Linked DNA regions of Homo sapiens: region 2 is linked to region 1. The links are contacts of gene promoters, found by promoter capture Hi-C in human tissues and cell types (Jung and others, 2019). All regions are on one chromosome and are shown on one strand. The core of a region is centred on a gene start or on the middle of the fragment in contact, and the rest is flanking DNA. Distances in the headings are between cores, read along the strand shown. Region 1 holds the start of KCNQ2 (potassium voltage-gated channel subfamily Q member 2). Region 2 holds the start of MIR1914 (microRNA 1914).

Region 1 (4,583 bases), core at 1,303-3,802:
TTGGATGAAATTTACCCCAACTGGGCATTTTCACGACCCACTTTGCCTGGGCGCAGAGGAGGGGACAGGGGGCAGGCATGCGGGTAACCAGATTGCTGACAATGTAGCCCGTGGGTGTGCAAGACACAAAATTAAAAACATAAATGATTAATGAGCTAGCTCTTTGAAAGGACATCCTAAACAAAGGAGGAAGCAAGGATTTTCAAGCCTTGATGCAGGATTCACTTTCCAGAACCTTCCAAGGTGTGGCAAAGCTGCTGGAGCCAACGCCATTTGTAGACGGGAGAACCGCGAGCTGCAGGGTGCAAAGCTCCACCTGCATCCTGAGCCGGCCCCTCCAGCCCGGCATCCCCACGGGGGATGCCACTCTCGGCCACCCCCAGGAGGCTGTGAAGCCAGCCGATGGCTCCCCAAGACCTCAGCAGGGTTTTCCCCTTTTTTTTCTGAAAAATAAGATGAACAGGTTTGTCTCTCCCAATGTCCTGGACACCAGAGCACCTTAATCCTTGCTCCCATCTCAGCTCTGGTGCATCTGCTCAAACGGGAACTGGGGTCACTTTTCCTTCATCCTCTGTGGATCAGCCCTGACCTTGGGTCCCACTGGGCTCTGACATCAAACCTGAGATGACTGCTTGCCCAGGAGAGGTCACGTGTAGCCCGGGCACTGCCGAGGGGCACCGGATAGTCTGGGGCTTCCCCCCACAGGATGAGGGGCCCCAGCCCTGCAGGGTTTACATTTTGAGCTACGGCTGCTCCCTCGGGTCTTCTGGTGAGTGGGAAAGACCAGCGGCACCAGCCAGCGTGTGCAGGGAGATGCCACGGTGCTCTCTTCCTTCTGCATACTGAAGTCCTCTCCCTCCCCTGAAAGCACCAGGCTGGTGCCTCCTCCCTTAACAATCGAGAGAAACCGCAGCCGCTTGGGGCAAGCCCACTTCATGCTGGTAATCACAGCCAATGCGTGGGCACAGAGGCAGGGAGGCGGGGATCCAGAAAGTACCCCTGGATGTGCACAAGCTTGTGTAAGTTGCCGTCTATCCCCAACGTCCTGGATAACGTACAGGTTAGCATTCTGCCTGCACCGACCCTTCTGTATTCAGCCTAGTTAAAAACAAAACAACAACAACAAAAACAGGCCCCGTGGCCACTAGCTCTGGAAACCAAAGGGCAAACACAACTCAAGAGCTCACTCTGCACCAGGGTTAGGGCTGTTTTATGAGCAGGTCACCTGCGAGGACGGCGCCAGCGATTCAGCAGAGGGCCTTTCTCTGGGTAGAACCCATGGTGCCAGGCGAACGTGCAAACAGGCTGGATGTAGTCAGAGACGCACTCGAAGATGACACCCCTCCTGGATGTGCAGAGGAAGGCCCAGTGGCGGGGCACCTCACAGGGCGGGCAGCACTGAGCCGCAGGGGTCCCTTGGTCTCCCAGCAGCAGCTCCAGAGGGACCCCTCCCAGGACACATGGCTGCCGGCAGGGGGGAGGCCACCTCCGCGCACTTGCCCCCAAGGAAACACCGTCCCATCTGTGTCCAGGAGGCACAGATCTGCCTCCTTTGTCCCGAGGTGTGGCACTGGGCTTCCTGCTGGCCTGTCTGCTGCCCTGGGGCCACCCTCCAGTCCCTGCCCCTGCCACAGGCCCCTTCTGGGGTCTGCATAACTAAGTCCAGGCCCCTTGGGGGGCTTCAAGGCCCTCTAGGAGTGACTCTCTCCCATCCCCCACCCCATGGCCCTTGCTCCTCTTCTTGCCTCCCGGCCTCTGTGGCCACCCCCTTTCCCCTGGGCTGCTTTCCTTGCAGGGTGCCTCCAGCCTCCACAGACCCTCCCTGCACACACCCTGGGGTCTAGGGGGTCCTACTGCCTGGGCAACCCTGACACCGAGAGCATGAGGTCACCATGGGCTGAGCCCTAACAGAGTCTTGGGGAGAGCCCCTACCCCCATCCCTTCCCGGAGGCGTCCACTCCCAGGGCCCAGCTGAGAAGACTCCAGTCCTGCTCAGGCGGCTGGGCACCGCTCTGGGACCCCAGGAGCGCTGGGGCCACCAGGCAGGTCCACTTGGTTAGTACTACCGGACTCAAAGGTGACCGCAGGGTCAGTGTGCACATGGCCGGGGGATTGGGCAGGCTCAGCCCAGAGCTCTGGTCCCGCGGGCCTTGGTCCCTTCTGCCTCCCCCTCCTCTCCCCCTGCCCTCCCCTCCCCCTCCCCCACTCCCCCTCCTCTCCCCCCTCCCCTCCCCCTCCACTCCTGTCTCCCCCCTCCACTCCTGTCTCCCCTCTCCCCGTCCCCGCCACTCTCCTCCCCTCCCATTCCCCTCTCCTCCCCTCCCCCTCCCCTCCTGTCTCCCCTCTCCCCGTCCCCTCTCCCTCCCCTCCCCTCCCTTTCCCTCTTCTCTCCTCCCCTCTCCTCTCCTTCCCCCCTCCCCTCCCCTCCCCGTCCCTCCCTCTCCCCTCCCTTCCCCTCCCTCTCTTCTCCTCCCCTCTCCTTCGACTGGCGTCGCGGGGGTTAACGCGGGGCGGGGCGAGGCGGCGGGCGGAGCCGGCGCGGCCGCGGGCCAGGCGCCGAGGTGCGCGCGGAGCGAGGTGGCCGCAGCGTCTCCGCGCGCGGCCCAAGCCCGGCAGGAGTGCGGAACCGCCGCCTCGGCCATGCGGCTCCCGGCCGGGGGGCCTGGGCTGGGGCCCGCGCCGCCCCCCGCGCTCCGCCCCCGCTGAGCCTGAGCCCGACCCGGGGCGCCTCCCGCCAGGCACCATGGTGCAGAAGTCGCGCAACGGCGGCGTATACCCCGGCCCGAGCGGGGAGAAGAAGCTGAAGGTGGGCTTCGTGGGGCTGGACCCCGGCGCGCCCGACTCCACCCGGGACGGGGCGCTGCTGATCGCCGGCTCCGAGGCCCCCAAGCGCGGCAGCATCCTCAGCAAACCTCGCGCGGGCGGCGCGGGCGCCGGGAAGCCCCCCAAGCGCAACGCCTTCTACCGCAAGCTGCAGAATTTCCTCTACAACGTGCTGGAGCGGCCGCGCGGCTGGGCGTTCATCTACCACGCCTACGTGTGAGTGGCCGGCGGGGCCCCCGTGGCGACCCCCATGGCGACCCCCATCGGCGACCCCATCGGCGACCCCGGCCAGGCTGGCTGCGGCGGGTTTGGCTCCCTGCCCCTGGGTCTGGGTCCGGGGCCGGCGCTCCCCGGCGGGAGTGCTGGGCCGAGACCGGAGAGCGATTGTACAGCGCGCGGGCAGGAAGGATTCCGGGGTCGGGGCCGCTCAGGTCGGGGTGGGGGCTCCAGGCCCGCAGGACAGAGACGTGCGGCCGCCCCAGCCCCCTCCTCAGCCTGGGAGGCCCCTCCCCGCGGCCTCTGCGCCGAACAAAGGGCCGGCCGGGGAGGGACGGCGGCAGCGCTGGGTCTGGACTCTCCGGGACTCTCGGGGACCCGCGGGGCTGGGGCCGCCCGACCAAGCGAGGGCGGGGGGGAGGGGTCTGGCCTGTCCTCCGCCATCCTCCCGAGCCGCTCTCCCTCAGACTAGGGTGAGCTTCTGGGTTCCTGAGATGGGGGAGGGGCCCTCCCATGACCCCCCCACCCCAGCCCGGGCTGAGCGCAGCTGTCTGTCCTGCCCCCTCGGCGCCGACGCCCCTCCCTGGCCCCGCGAACCCCCTCAGCTCCTGCGCTCAGCTCCTGCGCTGTCCCATCTCTGCAGCCGCCGGCCGCCCCCGTGCACATCCCGGGCTCAGGACCCCTCCTTGGCAGAGCGAGGCCCGGGGGAGGGGCTGCGGCAGACCTGGGACCCCCAGCCCTGGGCCTGGAAGGGGCTGTCCCCTCTTCCCGGGCGAGGCTCAGGGAACGGCTGCCTCCTGGGGCAGGGCTGGCGGGGGGCGGCCGAAGCCTGCGTCCGTGTGCACCTGGGTGTTCGCATGTGGAATTGCACGGCCCGCTGCGTGTGCGGCCTGTGCGGCCGGTGTGCACAGCCTCCCCGCGCCAGGGCGCTTGCTCTCCCATCCCAGCTGAACAAGGGACCCGCTGAGCTCCGGGACCGGCCATTTTGTGTGAGAGGCATTTTGGGATGGGAGTGAGGGGCAGACTGGTCACAAGCTGGTCGGGCGCCCACCTGGGCCGAGAGGGGTGTGTGCCCCACGAGTGTGCCCCAGCCTGCGTGTGGCCTTGAGTGTGCCCTTAGCAGACCCTCCGTGGACTGTGATATGAGAGGGTTCTGGGGTAGGGAGAAGATCCCAGAGGGAAATGCCAGGCCGCTTACAGGGAGGGTGTCTCCGTGGAGGGCCCCTGGGCACCCAGCCTGGGACTCCCCAAGCAGAAGCTTCTCCGACCTCCTGGGTCCTGGAAGCCCTGTGGCCCCCAGGAGGTGAGTCTAGCTTTTCCAGTCCAGGGTTCATTCCCGAATCCCCAGATGAGCTTCTGTGTTCTCAGGAATGGCCTCCCCTGATGGCCCCCACCTGGCTGGGGGCCAAAGGGGCTCTTGGTGGGCCGGTACTGGTCAGCCAGGTCCCTGCCCAAGGTGACTCCCCGGAGGAGGGTAGGATAGAACCCACCCCCACAACCCTCCTGCCCTGACAGCCTGGCCAGCGCCCCGCTCTGCGTCTGAC
Region 2 (4,909 bases), core at 564-3,063, 470 kb before region 1:
GCCCCGCCCCTTTCCCTGCCGCTGTCACGCCTCTTTTCTGCCCTGCCACACCCCATTCCCGGCCCCGCCCCTTTCCCTGCCGCTGTCACGCCTCTTTTCTGCCCTGCCACACCCCATTCCCGGCCCCGCCCCTTTCCCTGCCGCTGTCACGCCTCTTTTCTGCCCTGCCACACCCCATTCCCGGCCCCGCCCCTTTCCCTGCCGCTGTCACGCCTCTTTTCTGCCCTGCCACACCCAATTCCGTGCCCTGCCTCTTTCCTTCCCCTGCCACACCCAATTCTGTGGCCTGTCGCTTTCCTCTTCCTGCCCCTGCATCACCCCCTTTCCTGCCCCGCCCCATTCCCTGCCCCTGTCATGCCCCTTTCCGGCTTTGCCTCCTCCCTGTCCCACCTCTTTCTTGCCTCCACCCCGCCCTTTTCCTGCCCGCTCCTAGACCTGCTGCTGCCCCGGCCATCCCCAGGCTTGGGCAGCGGGGCGGGACGGGACAGCCAAGAGACACTGAGCCAGCTTTGCCCCCCACCCCCCTCTCTTGAGGGGCCGCGCACCACCTCGGGGAGGAGCCAGGGCGGGGCCTGACCCCACAAAGCTTTAGTTCCCCCGGGGAGAGGCTGGGGACAAGCTACCCATTCTGGGGTATGACACCTATCAGCACGTGTGAGCCCGCCCTGTGCCCGGCCCACTTCTGCTTCCTCTTAGCGCAGGAGGGGTCCCGCACTGGGAGGGGCCCTCACAGCCTACCCCGCTAGCTTTCTGCCTGATGGTGAGCTTGCCCCGTTGTTCGCCGCCATCTTTCGCCTTTGCCTGACAGCTCAGGTAGGGCGACGTCTCCCCCCAGCTCAGCCCCAGGCAGAAGTCAGGCCCGCTCTGCACCTCGTGCTGTGCCTGGCCCGTGTGTTCCCCTCACAGTGACGCACAGCCGTCCTGTGGGGAGGGAGGGCTCTGGGAAAAGACCCCCTTCTTGAGTGTTCCCCATCGGTTTGTCCCCAGGGCTGCGCTGGCCTCGGCACACCAGTGCCACCCGCTGCCCCGGACGCTGAGCGTCCTGAAGAGCACGCCGCAGGTACGGGGCATGCACACCATCATCAGGTGAGGGCCCACCTGGGGACGGGGCGGCCCCGGGCGCGTGCTCCCGCTCAACTGTTGGCCCCACAGGGACAAGGAGACCAGTCGCGACGAGTTCATCTTCTACTCCAAGAGACTGATGCGGCTGCTCATCGAGCACGCGCTCTCCTTCCTGCCCTTTCAGGTTCGTAGCCCGTAGCCCGCGAGGTGGAGGGTGGGTCTTGGAGCCGGTGCGAGCTCCCTGCGCTCACCGGAGTCCTCACCCTGCACCCCACAGGACTGCGTCGTACAGACCCCGCAGGGGCAGGACTATGCGGGCAAGTGCTATGCGGGGAAGCAGGTACCTGCCTGGGCACACCTGGGCGCGGGACAGGCTGCTGGGGCGGGATGTGGGCGCTTAGCCTCCCCTCCCCGCAGATCACCGGTGTGTCCATTCTGCGCGCCGGTGAAACCATGGAGCCCGCGCTGCGCGCTGTGTGCAAAGACGTGCGCATCGGCACCATCCTCATCCAGACCAACCAGCTTACCGGGGAGCCCGAGGTGCCTGGGGGCAGCCGGGGTGATGAGCCCGGGGGTAGGGGGCAGAGGGAGCTCACAGCAAGGGGACGCAGGGAGCCCCACCTGCAGCCTGACCCCTGCTGCCCGCAGCTCCACTACCTGAGGCTGCCCAAGGACATCAGCGATGACCACGTGATCCTCATGGACTGCACCGTGTCCACGGGCGCGGCGGCCATGATGGCAGTGCGCGTGCTCCTGGTGAGTGAGCCCTGGGTAGGCGGGGCAGGTTCAGGCAGAGGTGGGATTTACCTGCCCAATACACTCGGTAGGACCACGACGTGCCTGAGGACAAGATCTTTTTGCTGTCGCTGCTCATGGCAGAGATGGGCGTGCACTCAGTGGCCTATGCATTTCCGCGAGTGAGAATCATCACCACGGCGGTGGACAAGCGGGTCAATGACCTTTTCCGCATCATCCCAGGCATTGGTGAGGCTGCCCGGGCCCTTCAGCCGCACATGAGGGCAGGGTGGGTGGCCCTGGGAGGCCCCACCACACTGGACCCCCCCCCCCCTTTTTCCAGGGAACTTTGGCGACCGCTACTTTGGGACAGACGCGGTCCCCGATGGCAGTGACGAGGAGGAAGTGGCCTACACGGGTTAGCTGCCCAGTGAGCCATCCCGTCCCCACCACCCTCCTCCTGCCTCCTGACCCAGGACTGCTGAATACAAAGATGTTAATTTTTAAAATGTTACTAGTATAATTTATTCTATGCATTTTATAAAATAAATAAAGCTTTAGAAAAATGAAGGTGTGATTGGTTACAGCACAGGAGAGGTGTCCTGGCTGAGGCATGCATTTGTGGAGACTCCCATGGGGAGGGAGGGAGGGAGCTGAGGGCCCTGCCTTCTCCCCTGCAGGACCAAGCATTCCCAGTCTTGCACTTGTGCCAGATGAAGGAAGGGGTAGAACTGGGCCCTGCAGCTCCTAGCTCTGCTAGATGGGGCCCCTAGAACCCATAGCTTGGTGGCCACCTGGCCTGGACCTAGGGAGGGGACAGGGCCCCCTGGTGCTCTGGGTCTCACAAGAGGCAGGCTGTTTTGCCCCCACCCACAAATTTGTACCATCAGGGTCCTCCCCACAGTTGGGGGGGGGGAGGGTCCTTCCCGTCAGGACAAGTCGCTGGAGGCAGCAAAGCCAGGAGGCAGACCAGGGCGGAAGTGGGGGCCTGCGCTTGGAGGCGGGGCCACCCGGGGCCCACGAGCCCGGAGCCACTGCTGCTCAGGGCCCGCCTCGCTCACCCCTCCAGACCTGGAGGCCCACCCGCATCCCGTGCTCTCTGCCGTGCCCACGCCCGCAAGCGTGGGTTCCCTTAGGTCCTGCCCACCCTGCTTTCCGAGCAGGCCCCCCCCGGGCTCCCCGAGAGGAGTCGCCGCCGTGGTTTACTGAGGAAGAGGAGGTGCACGCGCGGCGCCCACACGTCGGGCCCCGGAGAGGCCCAGATAACTGAATCAGCCTCCCGGGGCTCAGCCGTGGAGCTGAGGGCTGATGCTGGGGACTCAGCCGTGGGCCAGGCGCATCTGACACGGGACACGGTCGTCCCCGTCCTCTCAGGCGCCAGTGTCTTTCTGCGTGGAAGTCCACGGCCAAAAGCGTGGCGTCCTCGGAGCCTGGCACCTCGATTATGCCGGATCCCGGATCCTGGACAGGGGTCTGCTGACGAAGGGAGGGACGGCGTAAGGCCGGTCTTCCCAGATGCCGCGAGACCTTGCGCTGCAGTGGGGTCTCCCATTGCCCATGCGACCAGGCCGGGTGGGCGCTGGTCCCCACGTGGGGGGCCCATCTGCGGGTGCAGCGCTCCCGCCACTCGCCCGCCCCACCGGTCCCGATTGGCCACGCCCCTGCCCAGCCCCCGCTCCGCCTGGTAGGCCAGGTCCCGCTGGGCCCCACCGAGTGACCACGCCCCTGAGCCGGCCCCGCCCCCGCGCTGGCCCCGCCCCCCACCCGACCCTGAGCAGCGGGGCTGGCGCTAGAAGTGGTCCCTTCCTGGCGTTCCTCGGTCACGGAGAGCGGGGCGCAAGGAAGGCATAGCCGGGGGGAGCGGGGAGGGTGGTCCGACCCCGTCTTGGAGACGGAGGAGATTCCTGGGGCGCTGGGCGGACGGAGAGTTTTGCCGCAGCGCCTGTTAACCGCGGTCCCCTGGACCAGGAGAAACAGGGCCGACAACCCTCCCTGGCAAGGGTCTTGCTGCCCGCCACCCAGTGTCCAGTGCTCGGCTTGCTGTTAACATTTCTCTGTAAGAATCCCATATATAAAATACTTAACATAGGCCGGGCGCGCTGCCTCACACCTGTAATCCCAGCACTTTGGGAGGCCTACATAGGTTCGAGACCAGCCTGGCCAACATGGTGAAACCCCCGTCTCTACTAAAAATACAAAAAATTAGCTGGGCGTGGTGGCGCGCCTTTAGTCCCAGCTACTCGGGAGGCTGAGGTACAAGAATCGCTTGAACGCAGGAGGCGGAAGCTGCAGTGAACCGAGATCGCGCCATTGCACACCAGCCTGGATGACAGAGCAAGACTCTGTCTCAAAGGAAAAAGAAAAAAAAAACTGAACTTAATAAACGTGGATTCTACTTAATTAAGAAAATTCAAAGACCAAGCCAGAAAAAAACGTCTGACAACGCTAAGGCTAGAAGGGGCAGCGAGAAGATGGGGAGCCTCTTTGCAGGGCAGTGTGGGGCCACCAGTCAAGGGAAGGCTTCCAGATCCCGCTCCCAGCGATCCCACCCGAGACAACTCAGCAGCGACATTCAGGCAGCTTTGTTTCCACAGTGAGAAACTAAAAACCTGTGGTCAGTTTGCCCAGGACCGACTGTGATTAATTCGTGACTGTTCTGTACAGAAGCTAAAATGAACCAGACCTAATATAACCACACGGCTTGATTTCTTAACTACTACTGTATCAAATGAAAAACTTAGGCCTGGTGCAGTGGCTCACGCCTGTAATCCCAGCACCCTGGGAGGCCGAGGCGGGCGGATTACCTGAGGTCCGGAGTTCAAGATCAGGCTGGCCAACATGGTGAAACCCCGTCTACTAAATACAAAAAGTTAGCCAGGCGTGGTGGCACATGCCTGTAATCCCAGCTACTCAGGAGGCTGAGGCACAAGAATCACTTCAACCCAGGAGATGAAGGTTGTAGTGAGCCGAGATTGTGCCACTGCACTCCAGCCTGGGCCACAAAGACTCCGTCTCAAAAACAAAAACAGGCCGGGCGCGGTGGCTCATGCCTGTAATCCCAGCACTTTGGGAGGCCGAGGTGGGCAGATCACAAGGTCAGGAGATCCGAGAC

What was found. The method cuts DNA at HindIII sites, captures the fragments that hold promoters and counts their contacts. A contact is called where the count stands out against the background at its distance.
Region 2: a contact is called between a fragment that was not itself captured here and the fragment with the promoter of KCNQ2 in region 1, in 3 of the 25 tissues and cell types used here (H1 embryonic stem cells, dorsolateral prefrontal cortex and lymphoblastoid cells).

Annotation. Positions count from the first base shown.
Region 1 is chr20:63,470,624-63,475,206 of GRCh38, reverse strand. It overlaps KCNQ2 (potassium voltage-gated channel subfamily Q member 2), which reads left to right and starts at 2,552. Exons shown (of 17, transcript NM_172107.4): 1 at 2,552-3,039. The coding sequence starts at 2,744. The HindIII fragment of the contact is 7,504 bases long and covers 1-4,583 here.
Region 2 is chr20:63,937,287-63,942,195 of GRCh38, reverse strand. It overlaps UCKL1 (uridine-cytidine kinase 1 like 1), which reads left to right. Exons shown (of 15, transcript NM_017859.4): 9 at 988-1,086; 10 at 1,153-1,246; 11 at 1,340-1,402; 12 at 1,480-1,602; 13 at 1,711-1,818; 14 at 1,890-2,046; 15 at 2,141-2,367. The coding sequence ends at 2,220. MIR1914 (microRNA 1914) reads left to right here and starts at 652; the gene lies at 652-731. The HindIII fragment of the contact is 6,155 bases long and covers 1-4,890 here.